Regions from separate parts of the Homo sapiens genome. Here regions 1 and 2 are each linked to region 3. The links are contacts of gene promoters, found by promoter capture Hi-C in blood cells and fetal thymus (Javierre and others, 2016). All regions are on one chromosome and are shown on one strand. Each heading gives the region's core, a stretch centred on a gene start or on the middle of the fragment in contact. The rest is flanking DNA. Distances are from core to core; before and after follow the strand shown. Region 1 overlaps PNISR (PNN interacting serine and arginine rich protein). Region 2 overlaps USP45 (ubiquitin specific peptidase 45). Region 3 holds the start of KPNA5 (karyopherin subunit alpha 5).

Region 1 (3,322 bases), core at 819-3,318, about 17 Mb after region 3:
AACCCAGGAGGTAGGGGTTGCAGTGAGCCAATATCACGCCAGTATGATCCAGCCTGGGCAACAGAGTGAGACTGTCTGAAAAAAAAAATGGCTTTGCATTTTAATATTTTTGAAGATGTCACACTATTAGTAGCTATAATAATTAGAAATACTGTATAAAATGCTCTTTTTTAGATGTTGCTGACAAAAATGCTTCTAACAGAAATTCTGCTGGATGTCACAGATGAAGAAATTTATTACGTAGCCAAAGATGCACACCGCAAAGCAACGAAAGGTATATTTTGGTGTTTCTGGTTTTGCTTTTCCTGGGGTATTTTGGTTCTGATGACTATTTTGGCCTTTTTTTGTTGTCCTTGTTGGATTTCTACCAGATATTTGAATATTCTCTTGCATGTTTTAACTCTTAAAGATTAGATTCGTAGACACCATATTAAAGCTATACAAATATTTTTGTTTTATCTGACCTACATGAGTACAAATTAGCAATCATGCTGTTTTCCTCTAAAATGTATTGTGGAAAATTCCAGGTGTTCAGTTTATTTCACCTGATTTTTTTTAATAGATAACATGGCATTGTTGTGTGACTTCTGATACAGTTTATTTTGACTAATGAATTTTGAATTATCTACCTACAATTTTTAGTTTACCACTTATCTCTTACAGAAGCAAGTGATTTCCTACCCCTAGATTTTTAGTAACACCTTAAAAATGTATTGAAAACAAAAATTAAGTTACATGTCATAATCTCAGAAGTAGACATACAGATATACCTGTCAACATTTTTTCTCATTATAAACCAATTTCAGCTCACATCAGAGTTATAATTTCAAAGCCAGACATGATACTGGTTTAAAATGAATGTTATGTTTTTAATGTTTCTTCTCTCCCCAAAAAGCAGCAATAGTAGTAGATTTAACAATACCATAGACTCATGACTATGAAATCGTGGCTATTTGTGTTAACATGTTGTTCCTGTTGTTGATGTGATACAAAGCTCCTGCAAAACAGCTGGCACAGTCCAGTGCACTGGCTTCCCTCACTGGACTCGGTAAGTGTTTTCCATATTTGTGAGAGGGCCTAAAGGGAAAAATCACACATACATTGTCTCTCTGCGTGTTCTATTTTGAAACTGTATTAGTCCTACTCAGTTTATAAAAACCTAGGTCTTAGGGTTATGTCATCCTGTCTAAAAAGGTTTGCCTATTTTTTTGACTAACGCATTCACAGTGAGAAATTTATAAATGTGATGGTTAATTCATAGTTTATTGGGGCAGGTTATATTGGAAGATTTCCTTATTGCTCCAATATATGCATTTTATATATATATAATTATATATGAACACCTATAGTTTGTACTTAATAATTCATAATTTAGCCATGATAGTATCTAAGCTCACTTTCAGAATTATTGCATACATGCCTTAGGGAAGAACCTATCCACTAATGCTTTTAATAACTTACATAGATTGTGTTGCGGCAAGTCAAGTTTTAATATAGAGGAAAGGGTTTATCTTATCATAGTAAAATAGTAGTGATGTGTTCATAATTTACTATTTGCATGGTATATTATCAAGGCTGTAAAAGCTTGAATTTGCCTTTTCCACATCTTCATTTCAAATTAATTTTTGTGAGGACCCAGAGAAGTGGGTAGAACCAAATGCCCATGTGGTTTTGTTATGGTTATTTAGATCATTTCAGGGTGGGGAGTATTTTCAGCACCATAATATTTCTGTACCAGGGAGATTATAGTATTCTAATTTTTTTAGGGAAAAATTGCTTAGCTCTAGGGATTTCTAAACTTTGAACAATAAAAGTTAATTTTAGAAATACTTTCAGGGTCATCATTAAGCTTTAGCGTGGCTTTGTTACTGCCCTGTTAAGTAGTTTTGTTGGTTAGTATGGACAGTACAGCAAACCCATTATCATTCCTTTACAGTGAGAAAAATATGAAATAGTCCAGAAAGAATAAGATATTAAGTAACCTTTGCCTGAAGGTTCTGTGAACTCCTTAAGCGTTTGAATGTATACTTCTCCCCACCCCGAATAAGCGTATTCTTCTGGGAAAAGGCAATGAAAAAAGAAATGAACTTTCTTCTCAGACCTTGAAAAGTTTTTAGTGCATAGTATAATTTTTTTCATATGATAGACTGAGCTTTATGCACACAGGTGGACTGGGTGGTTATGGATCAGGAGACAGTGAAGATGAGAGGAGTGACAGAGGATCTGAGTCATCTGACACTGATGATGAAGAATTACGGCATCGAATCCGGCAAAAACAGGAAGCTTTTTGGAGAAAAGAAAAAGAACAGCAGCTATTACATGATAAACAGATGGAAGGTGTAGTATACCTTTTAGACTTAATTTTGGTCCAGTTTTGTATTTCTTTTTATTTTTTAACTAACCTAAAAATATCAAAGGATAAAATAAAGGCTATATTATAAATAATATGTGATATAACTGAAACTAAAGTCACAATTTTTGTTTGGTTGTTTTAGGAGCCATTTATTGCAGTGGCTATAAGCCAAGCTATTTAGGGTATTTTTATTTCTTGCTAAAAGTCTTGAAATGAAAAAGATGACTTTTGAAATGGGAAAAATATATTTGTAAGACTATTGAAAAGTAATTTGTAGCTAGGATATATAAGGATAATAGAGAACCTAGAAGTTTTTTACTTAAGATACTTTACCTAATACTAGGAATAACAAAAGAGAAAATTTACTTAGAATTTCTTCTTTGAAAAATCTAAGGTAATTAAGAGTTAGCAGCTAAGACTTCTCTATAAACCACTTACTTACCTTTAAAATTTTGCTTTAGTTGGACAAAAGGGAAGTCTTTTCCTACTTGCCTCACACCCACCTCTACATCTTGATACTGTATTTTGCTACACTGTCCAGGAGGGTAACGTAACTAACTACAAGCTATAGAGAACTTGAAATGTGGCTAGGCATGTGCTGTGGGTATAAATTACATGCTAGATTTCAAAAACTTTACTTGAAAAAGAGAACAGAATTTTTTTAAATTTATTATGTGTTGAAATGATAATATTTTTGGTATATTGGGTTATTTTACCTGTTTCTTTTTACTTTTTTAATGTGGTTACTAAAAAATTTTGAATTACTTACATGGCTTGCATCGTAATTCTATTGAAAATGGTGTTCTATTGTTACAGTCTGGTAGCTTGACATTTGGTAGTATGAGAATTTTACATGAACATTTTCTTAGTGTTTTTGTCTTTTTCTGTTTCAGAAGAAAAGCAGCAAACAGAAAGGGTTACAAAAGAGATGAATGAATTTATCCATAAAGAGCAAAATAGTTTATCACT
Region 2 (3,395 bases), core at 154-2,653, about 17 Mb after region 3:
AGCAACTTATCTCCTAAGGTGGTTGTGAGGGTTGCGTGGGTTAATATTTGTGAAGTGCTTAGAACTGAGCGTGATACACAGCAAAACCATAAGTGCTGCTCATCTTTTTGAGCTTGGTATATAAAAGGAGATAGTGACCTTTTCTTCTCTTTCCAACCCCCATAAATAATTGCCCAAGAGTAGGAAAAAAGGATTTTTTTTTCTTAAGGATATGGGCTTTTTGCATAGCCTGTTTAAAAACAAAGCTTTCTAAACAACTTAGTTGCACATCCTACTTTAGAGAAAAGACAAGTGTTAAGTGATGGTGACTTGAAAACTGTAAAGTTTATTGTTTGGAAAACCGCATGAGAAAAATGGCCAGAACATATTTGTGCTAAAAAGAGTTAACATAGCAGGCCTTAAGACTGCTATCCTTAGAAAGGACTGCTTGCAATGTTGGTGCTTGTTTGGCATCTGGGAACTTAGATTTTTGGGTTTGTGCTGAACAGTATGTTTTATGCCGAAATTACCAGCTTCTGTAAAAATCCGGGACACCAAGTCTTTAATGGGCTTCCCTGCGCGGAAACTGCTGCATTTTCACTGATGGAGGAAGGATGTGTTTTGTTTGACCCCTCTTGGGAGGGAGACCGCATAAGGAGCCTACACGTGATTCCTCCAGACTCCGCTTGTGTCTTTTTCTATTATGATGAGCCTTTATATCCATACTGCATTGTGTAATAAATGTCAGCCATGAATTCAACTATATGTTGAGTCCCGTGCATCCTATCAAAGCTCTAAATGTGGGGGAGATCACGGAGATCCTCAGCCACAGTTTTGTAAATTTGTATAAAGGTAAGGGATATAAGTGCCGTTTTTTTACGAGGATATATTTCCTAGTGGTACTGGGCTTTTAGTGTAACCATCACCTGAATAATGTACATTGTGTCCATTAAGCAATTTCTCATTCCTCACCCCACTCCCATCCTTCCCAGTCTCCAGTGCCCAGACACAATTTTGATGATAAAAAGTATTGGAAGCTCTAATAATTGGACTTTTAATTTTGCCCTTTTGCCTCAAATGGAAATTGGAAAACTACAGATAAATAATTGCCGAATTCTGGGTTACTGTACCAAATGATTCTGTCTGTTTAGACATTACATATGGCAGAAAAATCATCAGAAATTGCCTCTACATTACCAAGTTAATTTTGAGTCAGTGTTTTTGAAAAAAGGCACAGGTTGCTTACAGTATGTAGGTCAAATGCCTGGTTTTGTTTATTATTTTGCTAGCATTATCTGTGTTAATGCTCATCTTTATCAAGAGCTTATCTGTACCACAGCGAGAAAATATAATCAGTTTCTCATAGGCCATTTTCCCTGTACTTTATTAGTTATACCTATCTCTTTTCAGGACATCAAATTTAAATTGATGGAGGTAGGTTTGCAAATTTGGGGTTAGAAAGATCAAATTTGCCGTCTGCTTATGTCTCTTTTCCCTTATAAAAGACTAGATCAGTTTTTGGTAAGTTAGTTGGGAGTTGGAGGGGTTAGAGGTTTGAGGAAAGTGAAGAAGATTTGAAATGGCTCTGTGGATAGTATGTAAGTTGACCAGAAGGTGAAGTGAATAATAATGGACCTAGTCTGCTTTCTTAAGAGACTTTCTCCCGACATGGAGAAAATGGTTAATTGGGTTCATCTAGGATTGGGTTCTGCGAGAGAGGTGATGTAGTCCTTAAGGCTCTGCACAAGTATTCCGGTTCACCTATTTTTGGGTACATGTAATGCTGCACTCTTTGTACATGGGCAACCCCTCTCCATGTCTGCTTGAAGTTAAATGTGCCATGTGACTTGCTTTAGGAAGCAGCTCTCCATTTGCCATTTCCACTTCTCCCTGCCCTGCTGTAAGGGTCATGGAAGGACTTGTTGAGATGCAGCCTCTTGTCAGCCTGGACACTATAGGAAAATATGAGTGGCTGATCAGGCAAGTTGGAAGAACTGGGAAGTTGCTGTCAGAGAAGGGGATACTTAAATTAGTGATTTTATAAGGTGGAACTGTAGGGGAGAGTAGATGAGGAAGTTTGGAGGGAGAAGGTAGAGATGAAGTGCTCAAGGAACTCAGAGGCTTTTTACATGTTCCTAACCCGGAAGCCCTTAATTTATTGCAACTTAGTTCAGTAGTGATGACCGTTGGACTTAATGGTAAACTTGAAAGCTCCCTTATTGTGAATTATGGAATGAATAAATCAAGATTTGGAATTTAGTACTGAATTGAAAGATTCATTACCTTGATCATTGAGAAGTAAGTCAGCAACCATGAAAATTGCGATGTTGCTTAGCCACCAGGCAGGAGAGTAAAAGGTAGGCCAAGCTACTCTAACAGAGACTCCAAAATATAGTAGTTTTAAAAAATGCTTAGCTTGTATCTAAAATCTTTGATAATTAACTGAATTTTTAATAAATATAAGGGATAGAGGTAAATAACACTATGAAGAAAGAGACAAATTCAGTGTGAGACATTATATAACTTTGCTGTCGAAAGAGTATTCTATGGGCCCCCAGCAGTGGCTTCAGTTAGAAGCTTTTTAGGTAGGTAGAATCTCAGGTCTTGTGCCAGACTTGTTGCATCAGAACTTTCATTTTAACAAGACCCTCAAGGTGACTCATGCACTGGCCTGATCTCTTTAAAAAGCTAAAGTCTTAGGCAAGTAACAGGTTGGAAGAACTGTTCTGTTAATAGATTAAAAGATACTAAAGAGACATAACCAATATCAAGTGCAAACCTTGATTGAATCTTTTTCAAAAAACCAGCTATAGAAGACAATTTAGGGTCAACTAAGGAAATTAGAATATGATGGAATATGAGATGATATTAGAAAATTATTAATTTTCTTAGATATGATTACATTGTTATATAGGAGAATGTGCTTATTTTTAAGAGATACATGCTGAAGTATTTAGGGATGAACTGTCAAGATCTCTACAACTTTCAAATAGTTCAACTATGTGTATATATATATATATATATATATATATATATATATATATATACACACACTCACATACATATATGTGTCTCTCTATACACACATATTGATATTTAGATAAAAACAAACATAGCTAATTGTTAATAGGTGTGGAATTGGTGGGGCACCATGGCTCATACCTGTAATCCCAGCAGTTTGGGAAGCCAAGGCATGTGGATTGCTTGAGCCCAGGAGTTCGAGACCAGCCTGGGCAACATGGGGAAATCCCATCTCTACTAAGAAATACAAAAAAATTATCTGGGCATTGTGGTGTGCACCTGTAGTCCTAGCTACTTGGGAGGCTGAGGTGGGCGTATCACCTGAGCCTGGGGAGGTTGAGGCTGCAGTGAGCTGAAATCAGGCCACTGCACTCCAGCCTGGGCCATCAGAGTGA
Region 3 (3,387 bases), core at 203-2,702:
CTTATGATTTTCTTTAATATCAATCGACATTATTTCTTATGCCAGTAAAGCCTTCATTTCCATGGGGCTGGGCGCCTCATTAGTGAAAGTAAAAGACTGCACAAAGCGGGGGAAGTGCCAACTAGAGAGCCCTCACAACCAAACAAGCAGTACTTAGGTCGGAGGGAGAGAGTTGCTCCTGACCTACCAAGAAAACCACTTTTGTACAGAATATGAGTCATCATTATTGGGTGTTGTAATTGAGAGATAAATCATTAGTGTTTTTGTCTTTTTTAAAAAACATGTCTAAAAAGCTCAAAAGTAAATGCCAGTGTCATATTCTTTTGTTTGTTTTTTGAGACAGAGTCTCGCTCTGTCGCCCGGGCTGGAGTGCAATGGCGCTCTCGGCTCACTGCAAGCTCCGCCGCCCGGGTTCACACCGTTCTCCTGCTTCAGCCTCCCGAGTCGCTGGGACTACAGGCGCCCACCACCATGCCAGGCTAATTTTTCCTTTTTTTGTATTTTTGGTATTTTTTTTGTATTTATTATTTTGTATTTTATTTTGTATTTTTTGTATTTTTGGTAGAGACGAGGTTTCACCGTGTTAGCCAGGATGGTCTCGATCTCCTGACCTCGTGATCCGCCCGCCTCCGCCTCCCAAAGTGCTGGGATTACAGGCGTGAGCCACCGCGCCCGCCGCCAATGTCATATTCTTTAGACATATCACTGTCATTTCACAGCTTTCAAATACTTCCATCTCCTATGTATTATCGATGAAAACCTAAGTTTTCATCTTAGAACGGAGCTGCCCGACTATTAGAAGCGTGGAACCCAGGCTTGCCTTGTCGTCGGGAATGAGCACTAGAGGCACCTGCACGCAGGTGGAGGAGGGAGGCTGGCGGATGGAGAGGGCGAGGCTAGGAGGCCCTCGGGATGGAACCTGTCTCTTCTTTGGACACTGTGGAATTTCCATAAGCTGCTGGACACAGCTGATGGGTACCAGGTATGAGTGGCAACGTTTGGCAATTCCATTAACTGAAAAGAACTACCGAGAAACGGTGAGGCGGGGCGGCGAAGATGAGACCAGCTGCCCATCACTCCAGAGGACCTGCTGAAAGAATCTGAACTCACCACGCCTTCGCGTCCGCAAGGGAAAGGTCCGGCTGCCACGCCCCCGCGACCGCTGTCGCCCTGGGGAAAACACGAGAAACACCCGGCACCGCCAGGTTCCAGAGACCTTCGCAAAGTAAGGGGTAAATAAAAACCGTGGCCCCAGGAACTAGTAGTTCCCAAAGGGACCAAAACCGAGGCTCCCCCAACCTAGCCCGTGTTCACTCCAACTTACCCATTAATGTGGCACTCTCCGATGCCCTGATTTCCCAGTCCCCAGCGGCGACGTGTGTGGCGGGTAACAGAAGGGCCGCCACTCCGCCCCTGGCGTGAAGCGTAGCGACCCAGTTCGCAATCCAAGATGGCGGCCACCTGCGCCCCTTCTCCGAGACCCCGAGGCTCGGCTCCCAGAAGCCCTTGCACTCGACGCGGCGGCGGCGGCGGCGGCGGCGGCGGCGGCGGAGGAGGAGTGGTGGCCGCACATCCTAGCAGTGGGGCGTAGAGAAAGTGCGCGCCGCCGTCCCACCCACCGAAGGAGGAGCCTGTGCCTGCGACAAGCCCTGGATTTTAGTTGCGCTTGCGGTGGCCATGCTGTAGGTACTCTGCGGCCCGTAGACCTCCGTGTGTGCAAAGGGACGACCCCTCATTCATTCATTCTTCACGCGTGCGTGCATGCATACATTCTTAAGGATATAAACTGTGTCAAGTACCATTTTAGATACATTATTGGGGCTACAACAGTGCAAAAAAGTTGGTAAAAATCGCAGCCTTGTTAAGTGTACGGAGAAGCTCACGTTTTCTTCAGCTTCATTAACTTTTATATGCTCTGCTCGTTTTATTTCAAGCTTTTTGTCATTTATAATTTTATATTCTATAACATCTGCGGTTTTTTGTTTTTGTTTTTCTGTTTTTGGGGGGTTTTTTTTGAGACGGAGTCTGGCGCTGTCACCAGGCTGGAGTGCAGTGATGCGATCTCGGCTCACTGCAACCTCCGCCTCCCAGGTTCAAGCGATTCTCCTGCCTCAGCCTCCCAAGTAGCTGGGACTACAGGCATGCGCCACCACGCCCAGCTAATTTTTGTATTTTTAGTAGAGACCAGGTTTCACCGTGTTGGCCAGGATGGTCTTGATCTCTTGACCTCCTGATCCGCCCGCCTCAGCCTCCCAAAGTGTTGGGATTACAGGCATGAGCCACCACACCCAGCCACATGAGTGTATTTTTGACAGCAATGTAGTCACCAATAAACGAGTAACTTCAGTTAAAGTACTGTAGATTATAATACACAGCCCTGTAATCTACCCTGGAGTTCAACAAACGGTATTGAAAACAGACTGTGTTCCAGATGCAATAGGAAGAGAATAAATAAGATAAACAATACATAAATCCTGCCCAGAAGACGTTTGCAATTTTTTAAGAGGAAAAACATGAAGACAAATTGTTTTAAGATGTTTGCTATTTTCAATAGTTGAAAAATAAACAGGAGAGAAGGGATTATTTAACTGTGGGTATGTAGGGCTGAGAAAGGCACGCTTGACAAAGGAAACCTGGGCAGTGTTACCAGAAAGCGTTGCCAATCATGAGTCCATATAGTGAAGTGAAAGCAAGTTTATTAAAGAAGTAAAGAAACAAAAGAATGGCTACTCCATAGGCAGAGCAGTGGCTTGGGCTGCTGGACTGAGTATATAGTTTTTTTGTGTGTTGTTTGTTTGTTTTGACACGGAGTCTTGCTCTGTCGCCCAGGCTGGAGTGCAGTGGCGCCATCTCGGCTCACTGCAAGCTCCGCCTCCCGGGTTCACGCCATTCTCCTGCCTCAGCCTCCCGAGTAGCTGGAAATTTATTGTATTTTTAGTAGAGACAGGGTTTCACCGTGTTAGCCAGGATGGTCTCAATCTACTGACCTGGTGATCCTCCTGGCTCGGCCTCCCAAAGTGCTGGGATTACAGGCGTGAGCCACCGCGCCCAGCCAGTTATTTCTTAATTATATGTTAAACAAGGGGTGGATTATTCATGAGTTTTCAAGGAAGGGGGCAGGCAATTTTTGGAACTTAGGGTTCTACCCTCTTTTAGACTGTATGACTTCTGGATGTTGCCATGGCATTTGTAAACTGTCATGGTGCTGGTGGGAGTGTCTTTTAGCATGCTAATGCATTATAATTCACGTATAATGAGAAGTGAGGATGACCAGAGGTCACTTTTGTCTTCATCTTGGTTTTGGTGGGTTTGGCCTGTCTTCTTTACGACATCCTGTTTATCAGCAGGGTCTTTGTGACCTGTATCTTGCGTGGACCTCCAATCTTC

Evidence for each region. Contacts are between HindIII fragments. The CHiCAGO score rates a contact against its expected background, and 5 or more counts as called.
Region 1: a fragment that was not itself captured here is called in contact with the fragment with the promoter of KPNA5 in region 3 in 1 of 17 cell types (non-activated CD4 T cells); the score reaches 7.5 in non-activated CD4 T cells.
Region 2: a fragment that was not itself captured here is called in contact with the fragment with the promoter of KPNA5 in region 3 in 2 of 17 cell types (total B cells and M0 macrophages); the score reaches 7.0 in total B cells.

What each region holds. Positions count from the first base shown.
Region 1 is chr6:99,401,555-99,404,876 of GRCh38, reverse strand. PNISR (PNN interacting serine and arginine rich protein) reads left to right here. Exons shown (of 12, transcript NM_032870.4): 9 at 175-274; 10 at 995-1,048; 11 at 2,167-2,337; 12 at 3,247-3,322. Among named protein-coding and RNA genes, the nearest start is that of COQ3, 9.0 kb to the right of the region's middle. RefSeq lists an enhancer at 1,683-2,882. The HindIII fragment of the contact is 434 bases long and covers 1,852-2,285 here.
Region 2 is chr6:99,511,477-99,514,871 of GRCh38, reverse strand. The region is part of intron 1 of USP45 (ubiquitin specific peptidase 45); the gene reads left to right. Among named protein-coding and RNA genes, the nearest start is that of USP45, 2.2 kb to the left of the region's middle. RefSeq lists an enhancer at 1-441. The HindIII fragment of the contact is 2,311 bases long and covers 248-2,558 here.
Region 3 is chr6:116,679,276-116,682,662 of GRCh38, reverse strand. It overlaps KPNA5 (karyopherin subunit alpha 5), which reads right to left and starts at 1,452. Exons shown (of 14, transcript NM_001366306.2): 1 at 1,325-1,452. The coding sequence starts at 1,328. RefSeq lists enhancers at 1-871, 872-1,855. The HindIII fragment of the contact is 1,991 bases long and covers 1-1,936 here.